Linked DNA regions of Homo sapiens: regions 1 and 3 are each linked to region 2. The links are contacts of gene promoters, found by promoter capture Hi-C in blood cells and fetal thymus (Javierre and others, 2016). All regions are on one chromosome and are shown on one strand. Each heading gives the region's core, a stretch centred on a gene start or on the middle of the fragment in contact. The rest is flanking DNA. Distances are from core to core; before and after follow the strand shown. Region 1 overlaps MACROH2A1 (macroH2A.1 histone). Region 2 holds the start of PITX1 (paired like homeodomain 1). Region 3 has its middle 12 kb from the start of MACROH2A1.

Region 1 (4,232 bases), core at 138-2,637, 300 kb after region 2:
GGAGAGCTTGTCAAAACACAACAGTTTGATTCAGCAGGTCTAGCAGCTTTTGAGAACTGCTGTTCTACAAATAGCCAGCATGGACTTTATAATCCAAGCTGGCAGGGTGGACCCAGATGTTGAGGATCTGCAAGTGGGGGAGAGAGGTCAGTATCAAATGTTTTAGACTTGCAGTGCCCACACCTGCCTACCGTCCCGTTAATAGAGAGCAGACGGTTCCACCGGAATGTCCCTGGCCTTGCAAGCATTTCAGGGTTGTTGGTGGGTGAACATGAATCTGGATTTGTTTCCAGGACAACCCTTTGTTGACAAATCCATCCCTCTGTCCTAGGAAGCTACAGCCTAAGGAAGAAACCCTGCTATGGGACTGTGGCTGCTCTGGACTGCGCAGGCTGCCAGGAAGGAATGGCGGAGGTAACGGCTTTCCTAACGTTTTCTGGTGGGCCTCAAAATGTCTTGCTGCCAGTTAGAATGCTTGTAGCAAAATGGAATGTGTAGGTGGATGCCCTGCAAGAGCACTCCACACACAGCCCTGCAGCCTCCAGACAGAGGCAGCGGTGGCACATGCAGCAGCTGAGGCAGGTCAGACCCAGGTCTGCCTCTGAGGCTTGGGTGGCCTGACAGCCCTACTCCCTCCAGGGTAGAGAAGCAGAGTGGTTAAGAGCTCAGGATTTCCCGGAGTCACACAGGATTTGAGTTGTGGTCCCACTTCGGTGCCTTGTTTCCCCATCCTGTGAAATGGAATCAGAGTCTGGGACAAGAAAATGCAAAGCACCGGGGCATGGCACAGAGAGTCTTCAGTTAAGAGGAGCTGTCTATAAAGTAGGTGGCTTTGAAGGGTCTTTTAAAAGGCTCATGCAGTAGAAAACTGCCCCTTCCACCCTCGTCCCTGGGATAGCTGTGACTGGGTAACTGCTGTTGTCGTTGCAGTTACACGGTGCTAACAATGTTGGCCTCAGACCCCAGAGAGCTGCTGGCCGTGACCGTGGGCATGCAGCAGCAGGGGCTACATAGAGGCTCCCCAGTGCAGTACTGACTGCTTTCAGGAGCAGTCATGCCCACTGGTGTTGCATCTTTGGCTTCTCAGCTGGGTTCACTTGCTACTTGCATAACCACGGCCCCTCTGAATAGCCATTCCTGCCTGGCCTGGCCTCTGTGCCAGCCACTCTGTCCTACAGCTGTGCTGCCTATCTTTCAGATCAGATGTTGCAGAGCAAGAGGGACTAAGGGCTTCCACTCTAGAGTCAGAATTGGGTTTGAATCCCAGCTGCTTTGGGCCAGGGTGTTAACCTCTCTAAGCATTAATTTCCTCCACTAGAAATTAGGTGTTTCAGGGGTCTGTGCAGTGATGACAATGGTGGTGATGATGAGGCTGCCAGTACTGCGGCCACCATCAGCCCCACCTGGGAGATGCGTGCACTGTTTGTTGTTTCCACTCTCTCTTCAGCCCCTGACCTGGCCTGTGGGTTGTGTTTATGGCATGTTCCTTAAGTTCCTCTGGAGTCAAGAGTTTCCTACACCATAGGGCTAGGACCTTAAGCAGACTAAAGAGACATCTGAGCTTTCCCTAAATTCACTCCAGTTGTGTCTGTAATGCCCTTTGCCTTTCCCAAGAGTCCTGGACCTCAGTTTCCCAGGGCCAGTGCAAGATGCCCTCTTGGGTCAGCCTCCTCAGTAATGGCTGGGGGGTGTACGCATTGGATGCTTGTCCCACGGTCCTGTCTGGACACGCAGGGACTCTAGGTGCACCAAGGACCACATCCCAGCTCTTCTCAGCCCTCTCCTTGAGTGGGACTTCACTAAGCACCCCTGCTCTCAGTGAGCTCACCTTCCAGGGCTGGGGCCAGGCAGGTATGCAGCAAATCCAGGCTAGGAGCTCATTAGGGACCTCAGAGAGTCACAGCAGGAGAGGCTGTATCCTGGGAGTCCAGGGAGATTTTTCTGGAGCAGACAGATTGCGAGCTTGCAATTGACGGCTGGGGAGGAGTAGAGGTGGATTCTGGTATTCTTTGTCTGTCACTTAGGGTATAGACATTCTTCTGCTAAGATTAGGTCCCCCTCGCACTGTGCTGTGGGCTGCTCTTAGGCCTTTACCATTTTTTAGTAATTGCCAGGTTGAAGTTGCCCCAGCCACAGGCCACTTTGATCCAAGTCATCAGGATCCTGAGCCGAGAGCAATGGTATACAGGAGGGAGAACATTCAGAAGCGATGGTGATGGGGCCACCACTCCCCTGAGCTGTGCCCCCTGCAGCTAGAGAGGGGATGGGGCAGCCCCAAAGTGGCCTCCCACTCCAGGCCCCCGGGCTTTGGGTAAATGAAAAATTCTCCCCCATTCAAAGGTCTCTTGAGTTTCTGTCCTTTTATCTCACCTCTGAGGCCAATGCTTAGGAGGGGAAAGAGGCTGATGGCTATACTTGGGCAGGTCAGGGAGTTCCCAGGTAGTGTTTTATGCACAGAGAGTACGCAGGCAGGGGGCAGTCCTATGGTGGGATGAGGTGGTGGGACCTGGGGTCTGGCTGACCAATGGAGATGGGAGGCAGGGGTTCCATGAGCCTAACAGCTCTGAAGCGAAGGGCTTCTGATCAAATTCTCACTCTACCAAGTACAAGTTGAGTGACCTCAGATGATTTACTTAACCCCTCTATGCTTCAGTTTCTTTGCCCTTGAAAGGAATAATGCTGTTCACCTTGTAGGGTTGCTGTGAGATAATGCAGATAAAGGGTTTAGCACCGCGCCTGGGGCTCAACACATACCCATAAATAGTAGCTTGAAAAAAATAAACCAGCTTTTCCTTTTAAGCTTATAAATCTAAGGAAAGTTTAATCAAAGCCCCAAACTAGTATTCCCTATGTACTACCCCTCTGGAGAGGGGTCACCCCTAATGTGAAACAGAGCTGAGGGAGTGGGGGTATCCATAAATATCGTGACCAGAATGGCTGAGGACAGGATGTCCAGATGCCAGGGCCTCACAGGCTGGAGGGAGCCATCACACAGGTGTGGTTATGGTCATCTTCCATCCATGTAGGCTGTGCCACTGGGCCTCAGCTAAGAGAGTGATCCTTTACCAATGGCTCTTTCCCAACATGCTTACCTTTATACTGTTTTAATTCCAACATTACTTCCGTGCCAGAGACACTGGATGCAACAAACAAGCTGTTTTATTTCCCCTCCTAAAACCCACTGTGATTTACTGGCCGGCTCTGGTGTAATCCCATTTTTTTTTACTCATGAAAGAGAGGGCAGCTGTTTACACAGCTCTATGGGGTGAGGTCTGCCTGGCAGATGTGGCCTGGGTAGCTGTACACATGTGCTGCCTTAGGCATTTCCCCCTCTTCAAGCTTTCAATTGATTATTTTTATTCCTACTTTTTACTCCATGAAAAATGTAAATAAGTTTGTAATAACAGATGCTCTTTTATGAGAATTACTTTTATGCTTCAATTAAAAATTTCCCAATACCCATATGAAAGGTTGTGAAATTATTACCTCCAATAAAGTTTCCTATTGCCTCCCTCTGCGGAAGCACCTTTCATCAGAGCAGATCAAAGTGCATTGAAAGCACTAATTAACTGAGCCTCAGAACCATTTGTGAGGATGGGCAGTCCCTATAGCCTCACTTGCTGATAAGGCAGACCAGGGCAGAGAGGCTGATTCATTTAACCAAAGGTCACACAGGATAGGAGAGCTGAGGGGCCTCACTCACAGAACCCCAGGACCAGACAGCCCAGAGATGTGAGGCCAGGGAAGGGGGAGGCAAGCCTGCCCATAGCTCAACAACTGGTGAGGGGTTGCTGGGGAAATGCTCATTCTGCTGTTTTGCCCTTGACTGGGAGAAGTGGGGGTGGCGGCGGGTGGCGGGCAGTGATACAGGCTCCAGAGAAGGTTCAGGTGCAACCAGAGATCTTTCCCCAGAGCCTGGTACTGGTGGGTCCTGCCAGTCACACATGGCCTTGGCCATAGAAAGCCCTGGGGAACGGTGGCAGTGCCCATCTGCCTGTGGACAAGGCCTTTTACTAGGCAGAATGTCAAGTGACAGGAAGCCCACTCTGTACTAGTTCTGCCACCAGTACTTGAGGTGTGGGACCTCAGTGATGGCAGCATGCAGGAGGCAAAATCACGAGGCCTGCCTAAGCGGAAAATGGCAAAATCTACTCTCTATCCTCTAGAAAGTTTGGAAGGAAAGTGCTTTGCAGAGAGCAGCTGTCAGTTCAGGACATGGTTCTGAGGACTGT
Region 2 (4,682 bases), core at 1,994-4,493:
CATAGGGCATGGGGGAGTCCCCTGGGGGCACAGGTCTTTGGGCTGGGGTTGCCTTAGTCCGAGGATCAGGTAGGATGAGGGTCAAAGGGGTTGAAGGTCCGAGGCGCCTGGAGGCCTGGCAGACGCTAGTGGGCCAGGGCCTAAGGTGGGGATCTCCGGTGGAGGGAGGGAGCAGGTCTGAATGGTGGGAGAGTGAAGTTCTGCTTGTGGGTCTAAGCTTTGGAGGGCTGCAGCAGAGGCGGCCCGGGAGCCCTCTGCGCGGGTGCCCTTAGGCGCGCACCCCTTGCTCACCCGCACGCGCGGCTCGGTGAGGTTGGTCCACACGGCGATCTCCTCCCTCATGCTCATGTCGGGGTAGCGGTTCCTCTGGAACGTGGCCTCTAGCTCTTGCAACTGCTGGCTTGTGAAGTGCGTACGTTGCCGCCGCTGCTTCTTCTTCTTGGCTGGGTCGTCTGCGCCGCCGCAGCCCGTGCCTCCCGCACCACTGTCCTCGGGCCCCTTGGGTTCCCCGCCGCGCTCCTTCTCTGCAGTAGGCAGGACGGGGAGCGGGTCACCTGGGCTTACGCCCCGTTGCACCCCGTCCCGGCTCCACCGAACCGCTCGCCACCAGCGCTGGCGGTCTTCCCTCCCTCCCTCCCTCTAGGGTTCCTGGGAACTGTCCCCACTGGAAAGCGCCCGCCGGGTGCTGGTCGTCAGTAGGCACCTCTAGTCTGGTGTGCCGCGGAGAAGAGCCCAAGAATCGGAGCTGGAGCCGCGGGCCTGCGTTCCTGGCTGGGCAGGGCCTGCACCCTTAGCTCGGCTCAGATTCTGACCCTGCTGCTGATGTTCCCAGCAAATGTATGCTTTTTGTTTGTTTGTTTTGCGAACTCTTAGGGGGTCTAAATCTGAGGGGGTCTCTGCTTTTCTGAACTAGGATCAGATCTCTCCAGCCTAAAGTCCCTCCACTTTCTTCTCCTCAGGGGTGTATGGGAGCCCCACTGGGCAGGCACAACACAGCCGGGTTCTCGGCCTTGCTTCCAGGCCTCCAGTCCCAAAGCCTAGAAAACCCCACCAACTGCAGCCCAGACAGACAGACTCTGTCTAGGTGACCTCGGGCTTTAGTCTGTCTCTCTTTGAAGCTACACAAAACACACGCAGTCATAGAAACATTAATACATAAAGAAAAAGAGTTTAAAAACAAAACACAGAAGCCCAGAAAAGCTCACAGCTCTATGCCTAAAGACACTGAAAGGGCCACAAATTCTCAAAATCAGACAGGAAGAAACACAGAGCAAATGTAAATTAAGAAGCCAGAAAGCTCCGTACAAACACACCCCTAACTAAATACAGAGCTGTAAGTGTATAAACTCCAGGTTGACAGAAGCATTTATTTCTCTGGGATTTAAAAAAATAATGTACCGTTGTAGATAGATTTTTAACTCCTTCCCAATAAGGCCCTTGTAGAGATAATTTTTAAATCCCAGAGAAACACATTATAGTTAGATAATTTAAATTCCCCAAATAACACCACTGTAAATGGATTTTGAGAAAATTCCGGAGAAACGCGCCATTTTGGATTGACTTTTTAAAATCTCCGGAAGAATAATGTTGCATGTAGATATTTTAAATTCCAGACCTACACTTCGTACGTTAATTCTTTCAGAATCGAAAGATACAGTTAAAATTAATTCATCCTCATAGATTTGGTTCAAAAAAATCAATATACGATTATATATCTCTCTAGGTTTTAAAAATAAAACCAACCAAAGACCGCGCTTAAAACTTTTGAAAACAAAAGTAGAGTTCAGCGTTGATTATGTTTTAACCAAGCAAACAACCTCTCAGAAAAATCACTTAGGGATGCAAAAGAGAAACAGATACTAAGAAAGTGGAGAGAAACATTCAGCTGTGTATTAAGAAATGAACGCAGAAGAGGCGCCCACACCGGGGAGCTCGGAGCCCCTCCGGAACCCGGCCGGCTGCGCTGGGCAGCGGATTCGCTGCCCCACTGCCCGCGCCGGCCACCCGCGGGCCCAGTTCGCTGCTGGAAAAAAGCTCCAGCTCGGACAAAAAAAGGCAGCGCGGAGGGAGACGCGCAGGAGCCGGGGCGGGGGCCAGAGCCGGGCTGCTCCGGGCTTCGGCCGCGCACGTGGGCCGGATCCCTTGATCGGCGTTCCGGCTGGCCTTGCTGGGAGTCCGGCCGCGCCTGTTGGCCCGCTCGCCCTCACCGTCCTCTGTGTCTCCCTTCTACTTGATGACCCCTCTCCCCCCGTTTACCCTTCCCGCCCGCCCCTTCTCTTTGGTCTCTTTCATTCTGTCGCCTACTGTCACGGTGTTAACCTCCCTCTCTGTCTCTCTGAGTGCGTTCTCTCGCCCGTCACCCCTCTTCCTTTCTCGGTCTCCTCCTCTCCCTTCGTCCGAGCCGCTCCTTAGCGCCCAGTTGCGCAAATCAAATTCTTTCCCGTTCTATTTACTCCTGATCAAGAGGGGCTGTCAGTCCAACCCTCCAGCTGTAGGCTCGTGCATCTGCCAGTCTCTTGGCGCGTGGGGACCGCGTGGAAGTGCCTTCGCGTGTGCGTAAGTTTCCGCGTTCACCGTCAGGTCGAGAACGGGAAAAAGAAAGCTCCTGACGCTTCTGGGGCGGAGAGGGAGCTTGGTTGCGCGGCGCGGGCGTCAGGCCCTGCTCCCAGCTCCCCGTGCTCCGCGCCCGGGTAGGCTCTGTGCGCGCCGCGCGGGGAACGGCGCTTACCTGGCAGCTCCGTGTCAGACGACTCGCTGGCGGAGTTCTCGAGCGGCTCGCGGGGGTCGGCGGGCCGGGCCAGGTGGAAGGCGGGCCCCATGTCATGGGGTGGCGGCGGCGGCGGCCGGAGCCCCTCCGGCAGCCGCTCCAGGCTCATGCCCCCCTTGAAGGCGTCCATGGAGGTGGGGACCGCGGCGGGCGCTCCAGGGGCCGGGGCTGGGCGCGCCCCGCCGCCCTGGCTGCGACCTGCGGGGACAAGAGCGCAGCGCCTAAGCGGCTGCCCTCCAGGGCTGCCGGCGCCTGCAGCGACGCCGTGCCCGCCCCATGGACCGCCCGGGGCTGCGGCGCCGGGCGGGCAGAGGCGGCGGCAGCTTCTCGCGACTGGGCGCCTGGCTCAGCGCTCCGCGCTGCGCTCCTGCCGCTCGGGCCTCAGCAGCCCGGCCGGCCCCGGCTCCGGCTCCGGCTCCGGCTCGCGATCCGGGGCCGGTTTCTAAGGCTCCGGACGGCGCCGGCAGAGTCTGTCTTAAAGCGACAGCGCGCACAGCCAGGTTCCAGCAGTCCCTGCGCCAGGGGTGCTGGGTGGGGTGGGCCTGGGTGGGAGGGGGCTGGGGAGGGAGCGAGCGAGCGAGGGAGCGCGGGCGGAATCCAGCCCCAAGCCGCCCGCGCCGCCGCGCCCTCACTGCCGCCCTCCCTCCCTCCCTGCCTCGCCCGCGCCCTCCCCCTCCGCAGCCACCTTCCCGCCGCCTCCCCGCCCCCCGCGGCCTCGCCGCGCCTCTCCCTCCTTCCCCGGTGACACACCGAGTTCTCCCTCGGCCTCACAAAAGAAACGCATCTGGCCTGCGAGTCCCGGGCGGCTCGTGCACACCTCAGGCCTCAAATGACTTGTTTCGCCTAGAATCAACTCCCGTCTCGGCCGCCTCGAAGTCCCCAGCCCTGGCGAGAACAGCCCAGGATGAGTGAATGTTTGCCGAACAGGATCGCACCGAGCGGGCGCCTTCGAGCCAGCGCCGGGGCGGGGGCAGAGCCCGGGGCCCGTTCCGGCAGCTCCCAGCGGTGTCCTCGTCGAGGGGCCGCCTGCCCCTCCTTCTCCAGCCTCTTCTCCCGGGAACTCAGCCCGGCTGAGTGACAGCAGCCTGCGCTCTAATGGGCCCCCGGATGCTGCCTCCTAATTAGCTTGGACCTTCTCCCCTACGGCTGCTTCTCAGGCCTCCCTCTCTGCACCGCAGTCAATTTTCCGGGATTGGGATAGAAATGATGGCTTCTAATCAGACGAAACGTTTCTGCTGGCTCTAGGCGTTTGGAGAATGCAGAAGGAAGACCCCAAGGATCCCAGCCAGACCCCACAGCCTCTTGTACCTCTCCCCTTGTTTTACACCTTAGGCCTTGGCCAAATGGGCCAGGCCTGGCCTTGGCAGGCATGGGGTTGGCCTTGGCAGCCTTTGCCCTCCTTCAGGGTAGCTTTGTCCCAGCCTGGGGCCTGCGTCCTGGCTTCCCAGGGCTTCAGGCATAGGCCTGGTAAGCCAGGTGACTGCTGTCTCCCAACCCTGGGCCAGCAGCCCAGGAAGCCCTCAGTCTTCCAGCTTCTCTCCCACACAGTGGTAGCTGAGCTGCAGCTCCAATGGGCCTTCACTGGGCACAGGCAAAGACATTACTCTCCCACTCCTAAGAGTGATTCCCTCCTCGAGTCCTTGCACGTAGGTGAAGTTTGTCGAAGGATTTTGCTCAACAATTGTTAGCTGGCCCCGAGACCTCAGCGTCTTGAGCAAACAGGCCACAGCTGGGGCGGCAAGGCGCCGCCCTGACCTGCTCCTCTGGCCATAGGCGGACCCCAGACTGCCCTCTGCCCCTCACCTGTGATCAGCTCCACCAGACACAGCAACCCAAGGGAGCTGCGCCAGGATTGTCTGCCTGGGAAAGAAGCAGGGAGGTGTCCAGTGTCCTCACCCCAAAACCCAGTGCCTCC
Region 3 (4,564 bases), core at 1,116-3,615, 380 kb after region 2:
GCCTGCCGAGTGCCTGCGATTGCAGGCGCGCGCCGCCACACCTGACTGGTTTTCGTATTTTTTTGGTGGAGACGGGGTTTCGCTGTGTTGGCCGGGCTGGTCTCCAGCTCCTAACCGCGAGTGATCTGCCAGCCACGGCCTCCCGAGGTGCCGGTATTGCGGACGGAGTCTCGTTCACTCAGTGCTCAATGTTGCCCAGGCTGGAGTGCAGTGGCGTGATCTCGGCTCGCTACAACCTCCACCTCCCAGCAGCCTACCTTGGCCTCCCAAAGTGCAGAGATTGCAGCCTCTGCCCGGCCGCCACCCCGTCTGGGAAGTGAGGAGCGTCTCTGCCTGGCCGCCCATCGTCTTGGACGTGAGGAGCCCCTCTGCCTGGCTACCCAGTCTGGAAAGTGCCCGGCCGCCATCCCATCTAGGAAGTGAGGAGCACCTCTTCCCGGCCGCCTTCCCATCTAGGAAGTGAGGAGCATCTCTGCCCGGCCGCCCATCGTCTGAGATGTGGGGAGCGCCTCTGCCCCGCCGCCCCGTCTGGGATGTGAGGAGCGCCTCTGCCCGGCCGCCCCGTCTGAGAAGTGAGGAGCCCCTCCGCCCGGCAGCCGCCCCGTGTAGGAAGTGAGGAGCGTCTCCACCCGGCAGCTGCCCCGTCCAGGAGGGAGGCGGTGGGCAGCCCCCGCCCGGCCAGCCGCCCCGTCCGGGAGGGAGGTGGGGGGCGCCTCTGCCCGGCCGCCCCTTCTGGGAAGTGAGGAGCCCCTCTGCCCGGCCGCCACCCCGTCTGGGAGGTGTACCCAACAGCTCATTGAGAACGGGCCATGATGACGATGGCAGTTTTGTCGAATAGAAAAGGGGGAAATGTGGGGAAAAGATAGAGAAATCAGATTGTTGCTGTGTCTGTGTAGAAAGAAGTAGACATAGGAGACTCCATTTTGTTCTGTATTAAGAAAAATTCTTCTGCCTTGGGATGCTGTTATCTATGACCTTACCCCCAACCCTGTGCTCTCTGAAACATGTGCTGTGTCCGCTCAGGGTTAAATGGATTAAGGGCAGTGCAGGATGTGCTTTGTTAAACAGATGCTTGAAGGCAGCATGCTCGTTGAGAGTCATCACCACTCCCTAATCTCAAGTACCCAGGGACACAAACACTGCGGAAGGCCGCAGGGTCCTCTGCCTAGGAAAACCAGAGACCTTTGTTCACTTGTTTATCTGCTGACCTTCCCTCCACTATTGTCCTATGACCCTGCCAAATCCCCCTCTGCGAGAAACACCCAAGAATGATCAATTAAAAAAAAAATGAGTTAGGCATATTGCTGTGGGTCTATTTCTGAGTTCTCTATTCTGTTCCAATGGCCCATGTGTCTGTCCCTCTGCCAATATCAGTCCATGTCTTCATTACTGGAGCTATGTATTAGGCCTTAATACCAGGAGAGTGGTTACTTCTGCTTTGTTCTTTTTTTGTCAAGATTGTCTTAGCTATTTTAGAACCTATGAGTTTCTATATATTAAAATAAGCTTGTCTATATCTGCAAAAAACCCTTGGGATTTTGATAGAAATTTCATTAAACCTATAGATCAGTTTTGGAGAAATGGACATCTTTACTATGTTGGGTCTTCTGATCCATGGACACAGTATATCTCCCCATTTATTTAGGCATTCTTTGGTTCTTTTATCAGTTAATTGTTTTTTGATAAATAGAAATTTCTAGATTTAATGTAGTCCATCCAATTTATTAGGTTTTTTTTATGATTAACACATTTTGTGTGCTGTTTAAGAAATCTTTGCCTACCCTCTATCAGTCATCAACCTTTGAGTAAGATGAGTAGGTCATGGCAACCCAACATTCTTACTGTGACAACATTTCACTGTGACATTTTTACTGTGTAAAAAGTTGTGTACTTTAAAAAAAGGCATCAAAGGGCTCTGGAAGCAACAAGTACAATATGAATTTAAATTGCAGAGGGGGTGAACTGATGATTACTAGCAGCTTCCTTCCCTAGGGGCCTTTTCCGATTATAGGCTCAGACTGAAGTTTGGATCTAACTCATGCAGAGAGACTGTATGGAAGGAATAGAACCCAGCAAGGCTTTTGGTGGCTGCACAGGATTCATATGACAGATTGGAGACTTGCAGAGCCCCCAGACATGTTTGCATTTCCCATAGAACACTTGATAAGTTCTGAGGCTTGTGTGTAGGAGGCTGAGAAGTCCGGCAGAGTGTTTCTAACAGGCAAAATACAATTTCCTGTAGTTTGGTGCTCAAGAGACAAAGTCCTGCTAGAGGAAGAGATCCTGTCTCAAAAACCCACCCAGTCTAAAAAGGCTTCACGACATTTGTCAGATTTTGCAGTTGTATGGAGCATGAGGATACAAAATTAAACTCAACACTTTCAAAGAGCTGAAATGAATTTCCCACAGTCTTTCAAGGGTAAGAGAACAGAGACCCTCTAGATCTCAGTGAAAAAAATAGGCAAAACTTACTTATTTTGACAGTCATAATAGTGATTTTTTTGGGTGTAACTGGAAGGGATCATGAAGGATCTTGTTGGGTATATGAAAACTGTCATCAATTTTTTAAGACTTGTGTACTTTACTGTATATAAGTTATAGCTCAATTAAAAAATAAAAACACTTCTAAAAAGAAAGCAGAAAAACGTATCTTTCACACTTTGCAATCCATCTGGAATACAAAAATATGATATAAGATATCATTTTATCTAATTTTTCCAGCACCAGTTAATGAATAATTATACTTTCCCCGTTGCACCGTAGTGTCATTGATCAAGTGACAGTGGATTTGTTTCTGGACTCTCTACTTGTCTTAGTTTGCCTGGACCATCATAACAAAACATAAACTAGGTGGCTTAAACAACAGAAATTTATTTCTCACACTTCTGGAGACTGGGAAATGCAAGATCAAGATGTCGGCTTATTCAATTTCTGTTGAGGGCTCTCTGGCTTGAAGTAAAATTGTTCAGATACTCTCTTACCCTTTTAATACAGCATTTGTAGTGCTGTCTTCCTTGTTGTTACTGGTACTGATAACCTGGGATTTCTCTCTTTTGTCTCAATTGATATTTCTAAGGGTTTATCAGTTTTTCAAAGAACCTACTTTTGGCTTTATTTAATTTCTCTATTAAAGTTTTTCTACTTAATTAAATTTCAGCTCCTCTTTCCTTCTTTCTACTTTCATTGGATTTAACACACTGTTCTTTTTACATCTTATTAAGATACAAGCTTAGGTAATTGATCTTTTTTACTTTCTAATATATGTAGTTAGAATTATAAATTTTTATCTGATTTTGTTGTATTCTATAAGTTTTGATACATAGCATCTTCATTATTATTAAGTTCATAATATTTTCTCGTTCAGCTGTAATTTCTTCTTTAAACTATATATTATTTTTGAAGTACATGTTTGATTTTTAGACCTGTGGATTTTGCTATTTACTTCTAGCTTAATTTAGTTGTACTCAGAGATTATACTATGGATGCTTGTAAACACTGGAATATTGTTGAGCCTCTTTTTGCTTCAACTCATGGACCTATTTTGTCACAAATTTTATGTGCACTTGAAAATAATGTAAATTCTATCATTGTTGGCTGCAATGATTTATATATGTCAATTAGCTCTAGCTTTTTTAAATTGTGTTTTTCAAACTTTGAATGTCCATACTGACTTTTTTGGTCTAGTTATTCTATCAGGTTTTGAGAATAGTGTGTTAAAGTCTTCCATTGTGACTGTAGGCTTGTCTATTTCTCTTTGGGTTCTGTCAGTTTTGCTTTAATATATATTGAAACCGTATTTTACACTGGGTTCTGTCAGTTTTGGTTTTATATATACTGAAATCATATTATTAATTATATACTGGGTTCTGTCAGTTTTGGTTTTATATATACTGAAATCATATTATTAATTATATACTGCTATATGTAATATATGTGTGTGGCATACTCCTAGTGAATTGATCTTCTTATCATTATGAAATTTTCCTTTTTTGTTTTGATAACGTTTCTTGAAATTGATTTGGTCTGATGTCGGCATTGCTATATCAGCTTTCTTTTAGGGTTTGTATGGTCTATTTTTTCAGTCATTTGTTTTAAAACTTTTTGTGTCCTCATATTTAAAGTTTGTCTGTTGCAGTTGGATTAATATCGCCATCTTACCATTTGATTTTTAATTGACCCACCTGTTTTATTTGTTATTTATTTATTTAGAGACAGAGTTTCACTCTTGTTGCCCAGACTGGAGTGCAATGGCACGATCTCAGCTCACTGCAACCTTCGCCTTCCAGGTTCAAGTGATTCTCCTGCCTCAGCCTCCCGAGTAGCTGGGATTACAGGCATGTGCCACCACACCCGGCTAATTTTGTATTTTTAGTAGAGACAGGGTTTCACCACGTTGGGCAGGCTGGTCTCAAACTCCTGACCTTAGGTGATCTGCTTGCCTCGGCCTCCCAAAGTGCTGGGATTACAGGCGTGAGCCACCAAACCCAGCCAACCCACCTGTTTTATATTCCTTTTTCTCATTTCTTGTCTCCTTTTGGATTAATAAAATATTTTTAATATTCCA

The links. The method cuts DNA at HindIII sites, captures the fragments that hold promoters and counts their contacts. A CHiCAGO score of 5 or more calls a contact.
Region 1: a fragment that was not itself captured here is called in contact with the fragment with the promoter of PITX1 in region 2 in 1 of 17 cell types (endothelial precursors); the score reaches 5.9 in endothelial precursors.
Region 3: a contact is called between a fragment that was not itself captured here and the fragment with the promoter of PITX1 in region 2, in 1 of 17 cell types (endothelial precursors). The highest score is 5.9, in endothelial precursors.

Annotation. Positions count from the first base shown.
Region 1 is chr5:135,337,600-135,341,831 of GRCh38, forward strand. All of the region lies in intron 8 of MACROH2A1 (macroH2A.1 histone), which reads right to left. It overlaps PITX1-AS1 (PITX1 antisense RNA 1), which reads left to right. Exons shown (of 6, transcript NR_161235.1): 5 at 332-414. Among named protein-coding and RNA genes, the nearest start is that of MACROH2A1, 60 kb to the right of the region's middle. The HindIII fragment of the contact is 2,822 bases long and covers 1-2,798 here.
Region 2 is chr5:135,030,985-135,035,666 of GRCh38, forward strand. It overlaps PITX1 (paired like homeodomain 1), which reads right to left and starts at 3,244. Exons shown (of 3, transcript NM_002653.5): 1 at 2,729-3,244; 2 at 292-524. The coding sequence starts at 2,897. It overlaps PITX1-AS1 (PITX1 antisense RNA 1), which reads left to right and starts at 2,290. Exons shown (of 6, transcript NR_161235.1): 1 at 2,290-2,556. RefSeq lists a silencer at 750-957 and an enhancer at 2,128-2,760. The HindIII fragment of the contact is 7,456 bases long and covers 216-4,682 here.
Region 3 is chr5:135,408,696-135,413,259 of GRCh38, forward strand. No RefSeq gene overlaps it. Among named protein-coding and RNA genes, the nearest start is that of MACROH2A1, 12 kb to the left of the region's middle. The HindIII fragment of the contact is 1,722 bases long and covers 1,505-3,226 here.